6 separate regions of the Homo sapiens genome follow, and regions 2, 3, 4, 5 and 6 are each linked to region 1. The links are contacts of gene promoters, found by promoter capture Hi-C in blood cells and fetal thymus (Javierre and others, 2016). All regions are on one chromosome and are shown on one strand. The core of a region is centred on a gene start or on the middle of the fragment in contact, and the rest is flanking DNA. Distances in the headings are between cores, read along the strand shown.

Region 1 (2,852 bases), core at 159-2,658:
ATAAATGTCAAGGGAGCTAAAATAGTCGACAGGCCCCAGAACATAGAAAATAAACTTCCCTTTCAGAAAGCAGCCTTCACTTGGTTTCGTAAGCGTGTACCGCTGAAGTCTGTACTGTTTGAAGGTGAAAAGAAACATCTGAGAAGCACCTGCCTGGATTCTCTTCGCTCCCTCCGGCCATGACAACCCTTATCCCGATTTCTACTTCGCGGCACCAAAGAGGAAAGCAGCATTCACCAGAACGCTCCAGGCTGAATCCGTTAGCTGGACTAGGGCACTCTATCCGGCCCACGGGAGGACGCCACAAGCCCGAGTTCGGGTTAAGACGGTGGGAGAGGCAGCCGCTGCTGCTGCTGTTTTGCCCTTGACACGTCGCTGGGGGATAGCGCAGACCCCCTCTGTCACGGAAAAGCGGCGTCCTGGAGAGACTGTCCAGTTCTGGGCTGCGCCGATTCCCCTCCAGGCCTTGCCCCTAAACGTCCCCGCCCCGCGGGGGCAGCCCTGCGGGGTCTCAGAGCCGCCCGCGAGCCTGGCGGGCTGTTACGCGGCCTGGAGAGAAGGGGAGCGCTCCTCGGGGAGGGGGGGTCCCACCTGTTTTGTCGTCAGGGGGCATCGAGGGGCTACGGTGGGGGGATCCCGAAATAGTGGGCGCCTGGCCGGCTGCGATCTGGACCGAAGGTACCAACTGTCACACCGCCACCTAGGCTGTGGGGGTGGAGCCGTGATTGGAGTCGGCCCCTGGGTGGGGGTCTCCGGACCCCGGGCGGGCTACTGCCCAAAGGCTCCCCGCCTCCCGATCGCCCCAATCCGACACCAGGCAGCCTTCCAGCCCGCACGCAGTAGCTCTGAAAAGGTGCCCACTGACGCCTCCTCCTTCCTCCCCGCCCCAACTTAGCCGGGGAGCCCCGCCGGCGGCCCGCCCCCTCCGAGCCCGGATCCCGGCCGCCGGACCTCCCCGCTGTGACCACCCACGGGAGCAGCAGCTCTGGAGGACTGCCCGCCAGGTACGCGCGCGGCACCGCGCGGGCTGCGCTCACGCCCCCTCGCCCCAGAGCAGCCCGCCCGCTGCTCCCCGGCATAAGGCCGGGCCCGCGAGACAGGTGTCCGATCGGCCCCCGCAACCGTGAGGCCGGCTGTCTGTCCCTGCCCCACGACTCACTTGCACTGGAGTCACGGCAGCCGCCGGAATTCCGCTCGCGGAGCCCCCGCCGCGGAATGAAATCCGGGGCAGGGCAGCGTCGGGGCTCCGCACCCCAATCGCGCTCTCCGACCGGCTCCCTAGGCGCGAGGGGAGAGCAGTCAGCCCAGGCCGGTCCTTCTCACTCCCGACCTGCCCGCCGCCTGCCGCCCGCAGCCGCTGCCCCGCTGGTGCGAACGCTTTCGACTTGCCACCGCGAGCCTCCCGGGCTGCCGAGCATGCCCAGTCCGCTGCCCGAGCCGGCCCGGCTTCCCGCGCGACGCGACTCCGCTCCTCCGGGTGTTCACTGCGGCCGGGGGGGCGGGCCGGCCGGGCGGGGTCCGCGGGGGGCTCCTCCCGGGACCGAGCGGGACCCCGAACCAAGGGACAGTCGCAGTTTGGGCCCCTTGAATTTTACTTTCAAGTAATGGGAAACTGAGGAGGCGGGCGCTTTCCCCAGCGTTTTTAGGGGCCCACTAAGTAAGGCCTAGCGGGAGCCAGATTTTACAATCTGGGACGGTAAATCCCTTGGGGCAGGGCCGGAGACGGGAGCCGCTAGAGCTGGTCACAAAGCAGGGAACGCAAACTCAGCCTGCTGGAAGCCAGGCACGAGTTTGCGAACTACTACTGGATTCTTTTTCCCACCAAGCCCAAGGGCTGCGACACTTGGGATTAATGCCCAATGGATCATTCCTAGGAAACGGCCGACCTGACTATTCGGCCCATTTTCAAACCTCTAACCATAGACTCTCATCTTTCTCCCACAACAGAAAAAAAAAGCCTCTGGCGACGCCTGGGAGCGCGACGGAGGCGCAAGAGCTCTAACCGCGCGAGGTGAAAACTCCGACTGCGTCAGAGCCGCCCCGCCCCGCCTGGGGCCCACCTTCCGCCGCCCCTCCGAGCTGCGGCGAAAACCCGGAGAGCGGCTAGGCCGGGGTCGGAGCCCGCGCATGCCCAGTAGCCCCACGTGGTGCAAGTCGCCTGAAGGAAGGTTTTCCTCTGCTCCCCGAGCGAAGCCCCAGCGCCCAAGTTAGGATGGACAGCGGGGAGAGCTGGCCTTCCCGCCCCGATGCCCGCCGTCCCTGGCCGGCCCGCGCCGCACCTCGGTGGCCTACAGGCAGCCCGAGGCCGTGCCTCCCGCGGGGTCGGGGACTTGGCGAGCGGGGGAAGGGGCGCGGCTACGGGCCCGGCGTACCACGTGACTGTCCGCGGCGCTCCGGGCAGCCATCTTCCGCCCGGCCATCGGGCCGCGGGCGCTCGGAACCGACCTGGGAGCTGGCGGGACCGTCCTCCCCCGCCACGCCCTCCCATCGGGCTTTGGGCGCCGGACTCTGGCCACCGCTCGGCACCTGCCTCCGCCTCGCCTTGGGGTATAGGAGTCCTGTACCGACCCCTGGCTTGCCCAGAGGACAGGTTCTCGCCCGGGCCAGAAGCAAACTGCGGCGAAATCGAGACAACAGAACTCAGGTGGCGGAGGGTCCCCGCTTTTCCCCAGAGGCGGAAGTTGGCGAGGGAGTCCTCTTCCGTTATCCAGCGAGAGCGCTGCTCTGGCTGCCTCCCGGTTCTAACCTAGTCCCTGCAGAGGAGTGATGTACCGGCAGGGACATTGGACAGAGGCCGTGCTCTTCCCTGCAGCGCATACCCCGCGGCCCCTGCTGGTGGGCCGCTTCGATGG
Region 2 (2,852 bases), core at 223-2,722, 230 kb before region 1:
ATTATTATTCAAACTATTCGGTACTACAAATACATGTAACGTCACTAAATCAAATGCATAAATCATGTTTTAGGAAATACACCTGCAGCAGACAAGACATTTGAGCAGGAAATCAATTTTAACTGATGTTTCTCTTTGGGAGAAACAAAGTACACAAATGTTTAGATTGCTGGTATAGAAATTTATTTTCTTTTATGCTTTACTGAATAAAGCTGAACTTTGTTTTATTTGTTAAAACTAGAACTTTGGTTTTGAATAAAGCATAAACCCTGAAGCATTACTCTATTCCCCAGAGGAATTTAAGTCAATAGAATGTTCATGTCAGCTGGGCGTGGTAGCACACACCTGTAGTCTGTAGTCCTAGCTCTGTGGAAGGCTGGAACAGGAGGATGGCTTGAACCCAGGAGTTGGAAGCTGCAGTGAGCTGTGATCGTGCCACTGCACTCCTGCCTAGGTAATGGAACAAGACCCTGCCTCTTAAGAAAAAAAAATTAATATCTAACAATTAGAATGTTCATGTCTAGATACTTTAAAAATCTTTTTTGGAATTACTCCCTTTGAAAGAAATTGGGCAATTAAGTGCTTGAACCAAAATGTCTACAAGGATAGAGGAATCTGAGAACAATTTCTTTACTGTATCAAGTATCTTGAGTCTCCAGGAAAAATTCCAGACACTTTAGGCTCAAATAAATTCCACTCTGTCACAAAAGTCACCAGCATACCCAAATAAAAATCCCTGGTAATGGTCACAGCCTGGGTCTGGGGTAGCAGTGGAGAGGTAGAAACCAAAGTCATAGCGGAGAGAGGGTAATGTCAGGAATAAAACGGCTCCAAGAGGGGCTATGCACTCTGCCCTGGCCTTGTCCTGGAATAGGATGCCAAGAAGCGTGTAGTTTGCCCGAGCATCTCCAAGACCTGGTCAGAGGTATTGAGAATTTTCCAAACAAAAGACAAAACTTTGAAGAAACAAATATAAAGAACAAGGCACATTTCCATTTCAAAACCATTCCAAAGCAACTCAAAACACATTTAAAAGAGAAAGGACTTCTAGTCTAGGAGACCACAGACCTAAAATCAAGTCATTAACTAATCCCCTCTCATCTTCCACTTTTCTCTGACTTAACTGGGAGGAATTTAATACTTTTCCTTACTTGCAGTGCTGTTGTGGGACTTGAACATGATAACTTACATGGAAACTTTTAAAAGCTGAATTTTTTTTAAAAGAAGACACACATGCAGCCAATAAGCATATGGAAAAATGCTCAGCATTGCCAATCATTAGAGAAATGCAAATCAAAGCCACAATAATACCATCTCACACTAGTCAGAATGGCTATTATTAAAAAGCCAAAAGTAACAGATACTGGCAAGATTGTGGAGAAAAGGGAACACTTACACACCGCTGGTGGGAATGTAAATTAGTTCAACTATTGTGGAAAGCAGTTTGGTGATTTCTCGAAGAACGTAAAACAGAATTACCATTAGACCTAGTAATCCCATTATTGGGTATTTACCCAAAGGAATATAAATTGTTCTATCATAAAGAATGTGCACATGTATGTTCATCATAGCACTATTCACAATGGCAAAGATGTGGAACCAACCTAAATGTCCATCAATGATAGACGGGATAAGGAAAATGTGGTGTATATATATGCCATGGAACATTATGCAATCATTAAAAAAAAAAAAAAAAAAGAATGAGATCATGTCCTTTGCAGCAACATGGATGGAGCTGGAGGTCATTATCGTAAGTGAAGTAATGCAGGAGCAGAAAACCAAATAGTGCATGCTCTCACTTATAAGTGGAAGCTAAACACTGAGTACACACGGACAGAAAGAAGGGAACAACAGACACCAGGGCCTACTTGAGGGTGGAGGGTGGGAGGAAGGTCAGGCTTGAAAAACTACCTGTCGAGTACTATACTTATTACCTGGTTGATGAAATGGTCTGTACGCCAAATCCCCATGACACGCAATTTACCTATATAACAAACCTGCACATGTACTCTGAACCTAAAGTAAAAGTTAAAAAAAAAAAAACTGAAATGTTGCACAAATAAATTATTACTGTACTCAAAAGATGGCAAACTTATAAATGATTAATTTGTAATGTCAAAAGTTTTCTGTCTATGTAATTAGAAAAACAAAATAGAATCTAGCTATATCCATTTAGAGAGTCTTAATCAAAGCCATGGTTTCTTTATGGGTTTAAAAAATAATAAACATCATCATGACTTAGATTTGAGTCCATTTCTTCTAAACATAGTATACAAGTGCACAGTCTTTCACCTAACTGTACAAGGTCGCGAGGTAGCAGTGATACCTCTGGGTTCTACTGGTGACTAGGTTCTACTGAGACGTGAACTGCATACCAGCAGAGCTGTCTTCCTCAGGATCCATGAAGACCAGCCCAGCAAGCGCCATGCAAAGGACAACACTACCAGAAAGTGTACCTTCATAACATCACCAGGGCACAGTCCAAGTGTTATTTCAGAAACAAGAGAAAGAAAAGTCAACAGACAAAAGGTAAATAATTGAAAAACGAACATGACAACAAAGTATGGGAGTGAAATGGTATGATGTCTGGGATTTGTCTTAAAATACTGCCCCTCTTTCCCCAGAACTAAGTAGGGGAAAGGGAGAGAGAGAACAAGAATCCAGAAAGTTGATTGTTAATGCTGGGAGATACGGATATGGAGTTCATTCTACTATTCACTTTACATTCTGTGTTTTTTTAAACTGCCATAATAAATTATCTTTAACTTGAAATTTAATCTGGTATGAACCCAATTTGGTTAAAAAATAATACAAACATAAAGCATCCAGAAAGTTTTTTTTTTTTAATGAAC
Region 3 (2,852 bases), core at 89-2,588, 210 kb before region 1:
GTGGTGTTCTTGTATGCTTTGGCAGGGAACAAGTAGGTATAGAGAAAAGCAACATAGAAATACTAGCCCTTTTATTCATTCTAGTCACAGTTTAAAAACATTATAACTGGCAGGTGCAGTGGCTCACGCCTGTAATCCCAATACTCTGGGAGGCAAAGGTAGAAGGAATGATTGAGCCCAGAGACCAGCCTGGGCAATATACTGAGACCTCATCTCTTAAAAAAAAAAAAAAAAAAAAAAAACAAAATAAAAACTTTTTTTAATTAGCGAGGCTCCTGGCTAACACGGTGAAACCCCATCTCTACTAAAAATACAAAAAATTAGCTGGGTGTGGTGGCACGCACCTGTAGTCCCAGCTACTCAGGAGGCTGAGGCAGGAGAATCGCTTGAACCTGGGAGGCAGAGGTTGCAGTGAGCTGAGATCACACCACTGTACTTCAGCCTGGGTGACAGAGTGAGACTCCATTTAAAAAAAAAATAGCAGGGCATGGTGGTGCATGCCTGTAGTCCCAGCTACTGGGGTGCGTCTCAAGTATCCCAGCTATTGGGTCGGGGGGGCAGTTGAGGCAGGAGAATCATTTGAGCTTGGGAGTTCATGCTGCAGTAAGCCATGATTGTACCATCGCACTCCAGCATGGCTGACAGAGCGAGACTCTATCTCAAAACAAAACAAAACAAAAAAAGATTATAACAACCCCTAGCCTGCCTGACCTCCCTCCTGCTACTGGCTACAAACATGGACATATAACTTACTCAGATAACTTAGTTAACAAATTCTTAGGGAATAAAATCCATTCATTTTATTCATATAGATTAGAGTCCAGACCCAGTAGTGAGAGGCACTCACTTTGGAAAGAGGTAATGTTAGAATTATTGCTTTATTTTTCCTTTTCTTTTTATTTTATTGATACACAATATTTGCACATATTTATGGGGTACATGTGATAGTTTTTGCATGCATAGACTGTGATGATCAACTCAAAGTATTTGAGATATCCATGACCTCCAGTATTTATTATTTCCATGTGCTGGGAACATTTCAAGTCCTCTCACCTAGCTACATCAAAATATACAATACATTGTTGTTAACTATAGTCACCCTACTCTGCTATCAAACACAAAAACTTATTCTAACTGGATGTTTCTGTTTTTCCTATTCTTCAACCTCGCTGGATATAATCCCATTTATTCCCTGAACTGTTCCTGTCCATTCCATACTCTTTTCCCAAAAGGATTCCTCTACAGTCTTCCCAAGACCATATGGTTTTCATACAACATATCTCTATGTACCCTGGCACTACTGAAACTGTGACAGACATTCCCTTTGAAGTAGACTGTGATGACTAGTTTGTCAGTTACAAACATTTAATTTCATATCTCTGACCTTTACTTGGACATAATCAAAATAAATGACAACAGATTTCTCAATTCTCCTGAGAATTTTGCTCCTAAAAGTAAATGCTAAATATTAGCAATAGATAACTTCAGGAAACTCTTTCGATATATCAACGGGAATATAAGACTATAAAGAGGACAATTATATAGGAACAGATAACTTCAGGAAACTCTTTCAATATATCAACGGGAATATAAGAATATAAAAAGGACAATTATATAGGAAAGTACCACAGGCTCTGGAACCCAAAATGCCTAAGAAACTATATACAGCCTATTATCCTGAGAACCAAATGAAAGTATATTTCATAAGTCTACAAGAATTTTAACAATATAAAATCACACTGAAAAATTCTGTGAAATTTTGTCTATGAACTGCTTTGGGTGAAAATTTCTGTAGTTGTTTAGTAATCTGTGCAATTTAAATGAGAATTATAGGACACACTAACTAGCAAAGTAGGAATTAGTTTACCTTGTAATTTTAACAATGTACTCTAGTTTCTTTTACTCGTTTACATGAGTCACTCACAGAACAGAACACCACATTTCCCACATGAATAAGCACTCAATGACATTCATTTTTCTTCTCAACGTTTTCTAAATTGCAATAAAAAAGATAATAATATTATGATGGTCATGACACTCTTGTGTTGCAAGTCAGATAGGAAAGGGCATTCAAGGTGAAGACAAGCAAACCTGGGGAAGCCAGCTGGTCCTTAGAGTGCAGTGTTATCTGGGGAGACTCACATAGTCCAAGGCTGTCCTTTAGTCTTGCAAATTTATAAATACAATGATCAGAAAAGCATTCATACTGACCACACTTGTGGTGACATTAAAGTAAAAACTCGAGCTGAATACCTTATTGTGAGAATGTAAACCATCAGGTGGGTTGTTTGCTGGCATGTCTGATGGCAGATCTCTGAAAAGCATAGTTACATGAAGTGGCCAAATTACCATGAGAAGGATGCATAGTGGGCATGGAACAAAAATATGTTCTGTGTCTTCCTGTGTGGCCTGACACTGTGCACTGTGAGGTTAAGGAGGACTCAGCGGTATTCACCGATGAGGGCAAGACCAATCTCTAATTCAGATTTGGAACTTAGGCAGATTTCAAAAGCCCTCAGACAGCCCCACCATAGGGGAAGACCCATATGGAGACCTGGTAATGCCGCCCTAGGGGTAAGGCACCTTCTCTGTAGCTAGGCCAAGTTGGCCTCTCAAATTCAGTCTCCCATCCCAGTCTTCAAGTTCTACTTCTCTAAATTCCTCTTCAGACAATTTCCCTCTCAGAATAACATGTTAGTTCCTTTAATCAAGTTATAGTTCTATAACCAAGTTATGGTCTCTTGTTGTATGTTTGCTGTGATACATTCATTATAGGTTAGTTTAATAATTTCTTTTGGAGTCAGGTCTTTCTTTCCAAATTGAGAAGAGGGAAAGGTATATATAGTACACAT
Region 4 (2,852 bases), core at 225-2,724, 170 kb before region 1:
AAACCCCATCTCTACTAAAAATATAAAATTAGCCGGGCGTGGTGGCGCATGCCTGTAATCTCAGCTACTCAGGAGGCTGAGGCAGGAGAATCATTTGAACCCGGGAGGCGGAGGTTGTGGTGAGCCAACATGGTGCCATTGTACTCCAGCCTGAGCAACAAGAGTGAAACTCCGCCAAAAAAAAAAAAAAAAAAAGAATGAAAAGACATATACACACTAGGAGAAAATATTTGCAAAAGACATACTGATAAAGACTTGTTATCCAAAATATTCAAAGAACTCTTAAAACTTAACAATAAGAAAACAATTAACTTGATTTAAAAATGGGCTGAAGACCTTAATGGAGAAATCACCAAAGAAGACTTATGGATAAAAATAAGCATATGAAAAGGGCTCCACATAATATATCATCAGGGAAACGCAAATTAAGACAACATGACATACCACTACATACCTATTGAAATTTTTTTAGGTCTTTAAATCTCACATATAAAATGAGAACAGAGGAATTTTTAAAGCAAGCAATATGTTTTAAAAAGAGAAAGAAAATAAAAAGCAGAAAGTGTAGCTCTTAAAATTTATTTCTTAAACTTAAGAGCTCTGGAAAACCAGGTAATAATTTTGAGGTTCCGTTAGTTGAGCACAGAAAACTAATCCATCTACCTACCTGCCTATGTATTATTTTTGCTTGAGAACAGATATGGTTAAATCCTCAGTGTTCACAATGTATAACACATTCTGCTAGGAATTGGAAAGCTTCCTAAGATGAACAATGATTTCCTTTTAGAGTAACCTGGGGTGGTGGAGGGAGTGCAGGGCTTTGATTATGACAGATCTGAGTCTGAACAAGAGGTCCAGTGCTTATGAACTATGTAGTCTTAGACAAGGCTGAGCTCCACTTTCCTGCAAAATAAAAAAAGTATCAAGGGCTCTGTACTTAACCCTGAACTACTCTTTCCTAGGATGGTCTTGCCCCGATACAGCAGGCTCACCCCTCCACTTTCTTCATGTCCTTACTTAGATGTTGCCTTCTCAATGAGGGCTTCCTGGCTTCTCTACAAATAGTGTGTGCACGTGTGTGTGTGTGTGTGTGTGTGTACACACATGCCCCAATTAGACTTACACTCCCCATCCACTTCTCTTCTTTATTTTTTGCCATAGCCTCTGATCCAACAGGTTATCAGTGATAACCCTGATCACCACTTAGCATACATGTATTTTCCTTATTCATCTAGTTTGTCATCTTTCTCCCACTAGACTATTAGCTCCATAATACACGTGTTGGTTGTTCTTTTTTTTTTCTACTTGTCAATTTTGCTCACTGCCTAAAATGTCTAAAGGAGGGCCTAGAAAATGGAAGTGTCACTAAAAATCCACAGAATGAAGTAAGATAATGAAGGTCCCTGCAAGATTCCAGGGCTTCATTCAAGATTATGTAAATAAAGACCTTAGAATATAAAAGGCACTTAGTTAATATTATCTTTAGAGAAAAGACTATATGAAACCATTAATAGAATTTTTTTTAATAATGAGAATAACAGTGTCAGAGATGACACAAGACAGTTGATTCAGCAACAAAAATGTGGAAGAAGAAATAATTTCTATAAATCCATGGTAGTGAAATCATATCATTCTGGGTTATTCTATATGATGAGACTAAGAAATTTATACTTTACAGGAAACAAAGTGGAAGAGAGGAGTGAGTGTGAAAGCAGATTAAGGATTACAAGTGGATGTTATTTATGTGCCCTTCACCCCTGGTTAGCCATCCCTAACTGGGCCCAATAACTGAAACAGACAAGAAAGTCAATTTTATTTTTCTTTGATTTATTCACTTTAACAGAGGGAAAGGGAATAGAATGTGAGAATGCTGGGACAATAATCATGCCTTCAAATATTTTTCTTGACAACTGCTTTTCTGACTGTATGGGAGTCTATAAGTGAGTATACTAATAATTAATATTTTCCAAGGAAACATTTTAGAAGAAAAAGATTCCATAAATAAGCTATTAGTTACCTAATTTGTGTTTCAATTATGGTTTCTTTCCCAAAATAGTTCAGGAAGAAATAAATATAGGAAGTTAATATAAAAATATCCAACACATTTTTAAATGTGATATAAAAAAATTATCAAGTGACCCAAGATTAAAAAACCCAGTACAAAAAAGAGAAAAAGACTTATCCACATCAAGAAAGCTTTCTTCATTTTAATAATTTCCTAATAAACCTTTTAAAATTATTAGTTTGATAAACTTTCCTTATCAACTTAAATTTATTCAATTTATTAAAAATATCATTGATATAATATTCAGAAATATACTCATTACATTAAAAATACAAACAACTGTTAAAAGAAAAAGAAAACTCTAGGAGAATTTATATTTACATTCTAAAATTTGAACAAAAAATAACAAATAGTGGATGCTTTGGATTAAGTAATTTTAAAGTCTGAAAATATTTATAACATGAGATGCAAACTATTTTCCTCCTTAGAAACTATTTCCAATATGAAGTAAACATTATAATTATTAAAAAATGATTTTTAATGGCTAAATGTGGAGATCTGTCAAGCTTACACATTTTAAAAAATTAAAACTTCCAAACACAGCTACTTAACAATCATAATAAATATAGCTTTCTAAGCCCTCCAAATATTAATTTTAAAATTTCTAATCATAATGTAGTCTTATGTTAGCATGTGGCTGACAAGTGATGCTATGAATCCAGTTGGCATGTTTACCATGTTATGTTTCTGGTTCCTCTCATGGCAGAGATTTAAAACACACTACTAACTTTCAAAAACTTCAAAACACATAACTGTACCAGGCAACCATTATCCCTACTCTGATCAT
Region 5 (2,852 bases), core at 167-2,666, 160 kb before region 1:
CTCCTCACTCCTCTGTGGTGCCCCTTAATCCTCATAGGTAGGCTTACACTCCACAAAAAAAGTAAACAAAGAATTCCATTTTGGAGAAACTGAAAGGTCCAAGGAAAAAAATCTGCAGATTTTGATACATGATAATCACCCACTGAAATGGCCAGTAAGGTCTCTGCCCAAAGACCTTAGAGTGAAGCCAACCACGTAACAAATTTGCGGTCCATTTTGTATTGTCTCACTCTTAAGTATGAACAGACAACTAAATCCCCAGCACTCATTTGGGAAGAGCCTTTAACATTAAAATCAGGGATCAAAACAAGAAGATAAAGGGAACACACAGGAAAATGTGCAAAGAACAGCAAAAAACAGCAAAATAATTCAATTCATATTCTCAAAAAAAAATGAGAAAATATTGCATCTATCAAACAAAAACAGGATCCTAATTTTAAAAACAAAATATCCATAGACCCTCAAAAATTAAGTTCAAAATTACAAACCTGCTAGCAGAAATTAAAAATTCAATTGATACTAAGAAAACCTCTCAGAAAGTTGAAGAAAAACACAGAAAGATGGAAAATAGCTAAGAGTAAGACTTAAGAAAATTAGAGATCAAACTAGTAGGTGAAAATACCCAACTAACAGACTAAGAAAAGAGAGAATGGGGGGGAAATTATCAAAGAAATAGTACAAGAAAATTTACAAATTGAGAGACATCAGTTTCCAAGCTGAGAGGACAAAAACAACAAAAAGTGTCCCAATATGAAACTGCAGAATTCTGGGCATAAAGAAAAGCATGAAACATTTTCCAGAGACAAAAAAAAAACAGTTCACAAACAACCAACTTGGAGGCAGAATGACTTGAGACATCTCAACTTATATCACAGAGCTCAGCCACAAAAAAAATAATAAAGTAGACATTAATACTTATCTAAATATAGACTGTAACAATGACTGCATCAAGAAAATAAAGAGACAGGAAAAGTAGGTATGTAGTAAGGGTAAAGGGTGGTCTATGAGAGAGAACTCCCCGGCAGGAAATCAATGCATAAGTCTAAGATTTTAAAAGGAATCAGTAAATGGCACTTAGAGCATATGATGTGTTGTTTAGAAATAGGTAGACAAATACTGGAAAATACAACTAAAAGGATTGAAAAGGGCTATCTTTAGGCAAAGGGGCAATAAGAGTATAAAAAGAACAAAGAATGGCTATTAGAGTACTATTTGAATTCTTAAACAATATACATGCAATTACCTCTAAACAAATAAAATAAATAAATGAAAGGAAAGAAGGAAGGAAGGAAAGGAGGGAGGAAGGGAGAAAGACTTAAGAAAGCAGTTCTACAAATTGTTACACAGTAGAGATCTTCAATGTTCATCTACACAGAAAGAATGAAAACAGCAACTGTCCTAACATTATGCAAATGATTACTTGTGGCTTGGGATAAAATTTCCAAATAGAGTGCCATACATAGACTCCAAAAGTGCTGTACTGCAAACACCTAAAATGATAACAGGCTGTGGAAAATAATATTGAATGCTTAAAAAATGTGACTCAAATAATGAAGACACTGATGTCAGATATGTATGTAAAGAGTTGGAAGAAAATTATTCTGGGGTAGGAAAAAAGCATTAGTTATAATATCCCATTTTGTATAAATACATACTTGTTCAAAATATGTACATAACTAAATTAATTAAATGGTAATATGTATTTGACTATTTCATCTATATCCCCAAGATATTCCTTATATATTCCAATTGCCCACAAAAATTGTTTGTTTAGATCCTCTCATTGGGAGAACACAGAAAATACAAATTAAGCATAAAAGGTAAATAATTTAAAAATCAGTTTACCTGAATCATGCTGTTATTTTTCTTCATCAGTCTTCTTTCCAATCTAGAAGAAGTAATAAGTAAATTAAAGTGCATTCTTTGTGCAATGAGCTGCTTATAAGAAAAAAAACTAAAATCCAAGTTAACTATTATTCACTTCTTGTTACGTATACATAGGAAAAAAAAAGCATTATTTCACCAATTCCCAACTAATTTCTGGCTGTCATGGTATTCAGAGTACACTTCTATTAGACAACGCCAAGCAGAAACAAGCATGCAAATCCAATGCCAATAAAAAAACTGCACACCAAATGCATCTGATGGTATAACATGAGTTTTAAAACCATGGACCTTTATAAATTATCTCCTCTCAATTTAGGTAAATAACTGCTAACTGACAATATAAAAAAGATAAAGAAGCAAGAAAGCGTATTTTTCAAACCATAATAATTACCACCCTGGGATAAATTTTCATTTTTACCAAAATGCAATCAATAGCAAGTTAAGTGGAACAACCACAGACCACATACATAAGTGTATGATCAAACAGCTTATAAATAACTCTAACCCACATCACCCTAAAGGCTTAAAAATGCTTCCATGTTTTATTTCATGAAAGACTTTCTCAGCTAAAAATGAAATATGACCCTTTGTAAGTAAAATATACACATGAATTAGGGTACATGCAGAAAGGGGAAAAAGCCTATTTTTTAAAAAATTAGTAAGCCCAGAAATCTTGGGTGGCTTAATAAATTTTCTTAAAGTGAACACCACTCTCCCAAAAAGTCAACACTGCCCTGCCTTCAAATAGCACACATTAGTTTTGCCTGTTGGGCTAGGTATAATTATTTAGGGATCTGTCTGGGAGTCTAAGAATCCCTGTATCTGGACAAAAATAAAATGCTTTAAGGAAAGGGGAGCAAGTAGTGGCTGACTGCAAAGTGGTATTATTTCAGAAAGATGTTAACATGTCTGAGGAAAAAGTTTTGGCTGATTAGTTGATTGTATGAGGTCAATCTGCCAGTTCT
Region 6 (2,852 bases), core at 189-2,688, 140 kb before region 1:
GAACTCCCCCAACCTAGCAAGACAGGCCAACATTCAAACTCAGGAAATACAGAGAACACTACTAAGATGTTCCAGGAGAAGATCAACCCCAAGACACATAATCATCAGATTCTCCAAGGTCAAAGTGAAGGAAAAAATGTTAAGGGAAGCCAGAGAGAAAGGCCAGGTAACCTACAAAGGGAAGCCAATCAGACTAACAGCAGAACTCTCAGTGGAAACCCTACAAGCCAGAAGAGATTGGGGGCCATTATTCAACATTCTTAAAGAAAAGAATTTCCAACCCAGAATTTCATATACGGCCAAACTAAGCTTCATAAGCAAAGGAAAATAAAATCCTTTTCAGGCATAAGCAAAGGAAAATAAAATCCTTTTCGAAACACTGAGGGAATTTGTCATCACCAGGCCTGCCTTGCGAGAATTCCTGAAGGAAGCATGAAATACAGAAAGGAAAAAGCATTACCAGTCACTACAAAATCACACTGAAGTACACAAACCAATGACACTATGAAGCAACTACATTAACAAGTCTGCAAAATAACCAGCTAGCATCATGAGGCTAGGATCATTTGACAGGATCAAATTCACACATAACACTACTATCCTTAAATGTAAATGGACTAAATGCCCCAATTAAAAGACACAGAATGGCAAGCTGGATAAAGAGTCATGACCCATCTGTGCACTGTATTCAAGAGACACATCTCACGTGCAAAGATACACATAGGCTCAAAATAAAGGGATGAAGGAAAATTTACCAAGCAAATGGAAGGCAGAAAAAGGCAGGGGTTGCAATCCTAGTTTCTGACAAACAGGCTTCAAACCAACAAAGATCAACCAAGACAAGAAAGGCATTACATAATGGTAAAGGGTTCAATTCCACAAGAAGAGCTAATTATCCTAAACATATATATGCACCCAATACAGGAGCACCCGAATTCATAAAAAAACAAGTTTTGAGGGGTTTTTTGTTTTTTGTGTTTTTTGAGACACAGTCTCGCTCTATCGCCCAGGCTGGAGTGCAGTGGCATGATCTCGGCTCACTACAACCTCTGCCTCCTGGGTTCAAGCGATTCTCCTGCCTCAGCCTCCTGAGTGGCTGGGATTAGAGGCATGCACCACCATACTTGGCTAATTTTTGTATTTTTAGTAGAGGCAGGGTTTCACCATGTTGTCCAGGCTGGTCTTGAACTCCTGACCTCAAGTGATCCACCCACCTCAGCCCCACAAGGTGCTGGGATTACAAGCATGAGCCAGCGTGCCTGGCCAGATTCATAAAACAAGTTCTTAAAGACCTATAAAGAGACTTAGACTCCCTCATGATAACAGTGGGTGACTTTAACACTCCACTGTCAATATTAGACAGATCACTGAGAGAGAAAATTAACAAAGATATTCAGGACTTGAACTCAGCTCTGAATCAAGTGGACCTGATAGATATCTATAGAACTCTCCTCCCCAAAACAAAAGAATATACATTCTTCTCGGTGCCACATGGCAACTTACTCTAAAATTGATTACATAATTAGAAGTAAAACACTCCTCAGCAAATGAAAAAGAGCTGAAATCATAACAAACAGTCTCTCAGACCACAGCAAAATCAAATTAGAACTCAAGATTAAGAAACTCACTCAAAACCACACAACTATATGGAAATTGATCAACCTGCTCCTGAATGACTCCTGAGTAAATAATGAAATCAAGGAAGAAACCAAGAAGTTCTTTGAAACTAGTGAGAACAAAGAGACAACATACCAGAACCTCTGGGACACAGCTAAAGCAGTGTTAAGAGGGAAATTTATAGCATTAAATGACCACATCAAAAATCTAGAAAGATCCCAAATTGACATGCTAACATCATAAGTAAAAGAACTAGAGAAGAAAGAGCAAACAAACCCCAAAGCTAGCAGGAGACAAAAATAACCAAGATCAGAGCAGAACTGAAGGAGATAGAGATGCAAAAAAACCCTTCAAAAAATCAACAAATACAGGAGCTGGCTTTTTTTGAAAATATTAATAAAATAGATACACCACTAGCTAGACTAATAAAGAAGAAAAAGAGAAGAATCAACTAGACAAAATAAAAAATGATAAAGGGAATATCACCACTGACCCCAAAGAAATACAAACAACCATCAGAGAATACCATAAACACCTCTATGCAAAAAAAATTTAGAAAATCTAGAAGAAATGGATAAATTCCTGGACATATACACCCTCCCAAGACTAAACCAGAAAGAAATTGACTCCCTTAATAGACCAATAACAAGTTCTGAAATTGAGGCAATAATTAATAGCCTAGCAATCAAACAAACCCAGGACCAGACGGATTCACAGCTGAATCCTACCAGAGGTACAAAGAGGAGCTGGTAGTATTTCTTCTGAAACTATTCCAAACAATCAAAGAGGAGAAACTCCTCCCTAACTCATTTTATGAGGCCAGCATCATCTTGATACCAAAACCTGGCAGAGAAAATACAAAAAAAGAAACCTTCAGGCCAATATCCTTGATGAACATCTATGCAAAAGTCCCCAACAAAATACTGGCAAACTGAATCCAGAAGCACATCAAAAGCTTACCCACCATGATCGAGCTGGCTTCATCCCTGGAATGCAAGGCTGGTTCAACATATACAAATCAATAAAGATAATTCATCACATAAACTAAACTAAAGACAAAAACCACATGATTATATCAATAGACACAGAACAAGCCTTCAACAAAATTCAACATCCCTTCATGTTAAAAACTCTCAATAAACTAGGTATTAAAAGAACATACCTCAAAATAATAAAAGCTGTCTATGACAAACCCACAGCCAACATTATACTGAATGGGCAAAAGCTGGAAGCAT

Evidence for each region. Contacts are between HindIII fragments. The CHiCAGO score rates a contact against its expected background, and 5 or more counts as called.
Region 2: a fragment that was not itself captured here is called in contact with the fragment with the promoter of SGMS1 in region 1 in 5 of 17 cell types (monocytes, total B cells, M2 macrophages and 2 more); the score reaches 9.1 in monocytes.
Region 3: a fragment that was not itself captured here is called in contact with the fragment with the promoter of SGMS1 in region 1 in 16 of 17 cell types (monocytes, total B cells, activated CD4 T cells and 13 more); the score reaches 15.0 in monocytes.
Region 4: a contact is called between a fragment that was not itself captured here and the fragment with the promoter of SGMS1 in region 1, in 13 of 17 cell types (total B cells, monocytes, M2 macrophages and 10 more). The highest score is 10.8, in total B cells.
Region 5: a fragment that was not itself captured here is called in contact with the fragment with the promoter of SGMS1 in region 1 in 2 of 17 cell types (monocytes and activated CD4 T cells); the score reaches 7.4 in monocytes.
Region 6: a fragment that was not itself captured here is called in contact with the fragment with the promoter of SGMS1 in region 1 in 1 of 17 cell types (monocytes); the score reaches 5.1 in monocytes.

The regions. Positions count from the first base shown.
Region 1 is chr10:50,622,548-50,625,399 of GRCh38, forward strand. It overlaps SGMS1 (sphingomyelin synthase 1), which reads right to left and starts at 1,409. Exons shown (of 11, transcript NM_147156.4): 1 at 1,160-1,409. SGMS1-AS1 (SGMS1 antisense RNA 1) reads left to right here and starts at 2,404. Exons shown (of 4, transcript NR_126411.1): 1 at 2,404-2,644. RefSeq lists enhancers at 167-566, 1,278-1,806 and silencers at 757-1,096, 1,357-1,616, 1,665-1,822, 1,947-2,576. The HindIII fragment of the contact is 12,791 bases long and covers 1-2,852 here.
Region 2 is chr10:50,390,161-50,393,012 of GRCh38, forward strand. The region is part of intron 6 of SGMS1 (sphingomyelin synthase 1); the gene reads right to left. Among named protein-coding and RNA genes, the nearest start is that of ASAH2, 140 kb to the left of the region's middle. RefSeq lists an enhancer at 837-1,363. The HindIII fragment of the contact is 3,672 bases long and covers 1-2,852 here.
Region 3 is chr10:50,408,214-50,411,065 of GRCh38, forward strand. All of the region lies in intron 6 of SGMS1 (sphingomyelin synthase 1), which reads right to left. Among named protein-coding and RNA genes, the nearest start is that of ASAH2, 160 kb to the left of the region's middle. RefSeq lists an enhancer at 1,767-2,267. The HindIII fragment of the contact is 3,180 bases long and covers 1-2,852 here.
Region 4 is chr10:50,448,567-50,451,418 of GRCh38, forward strand. All of the region lies in intron 5 of SGMS1 (sphingomyelin synthase 1), which reads right to left. Among named protein-coding and RNA genes, the nearest start is that of SGMS1, 170 kb to the right of the region's middle. The HindIII fragment of the contact is 1,440 bases long and covers 755-2,194 here.
Region 5 is chr10:50,465,045-50,467,896 of GRCh38, forward strand. SGMS1 (sphingomyelin synthase 1) reads right to left here. Exons shown (of 11, transcript NM_147156.4): 4 at 1,846-1,888. Among named protein-coding and RNA genes, the nearest start is that of SGMS1, 160 kb to the right of the region's middle. The HindIII fragment of the contact is 8,199 bases long and covers 1-2,852 here.
Region 6 is chr10:50,482,115-50,484,966 of GRCh38, forward strand. The region is part of intron 3 of SGMS1 (sphingomyelin synthase 1); the gene reads right to left. Among named protein-coding and RNA genes, the nearest start is that of SGMS1, 140 kb to the right of the region's middle. The HindIII fragment of the contact is 2,263 bases long and covers 308-2,570 here.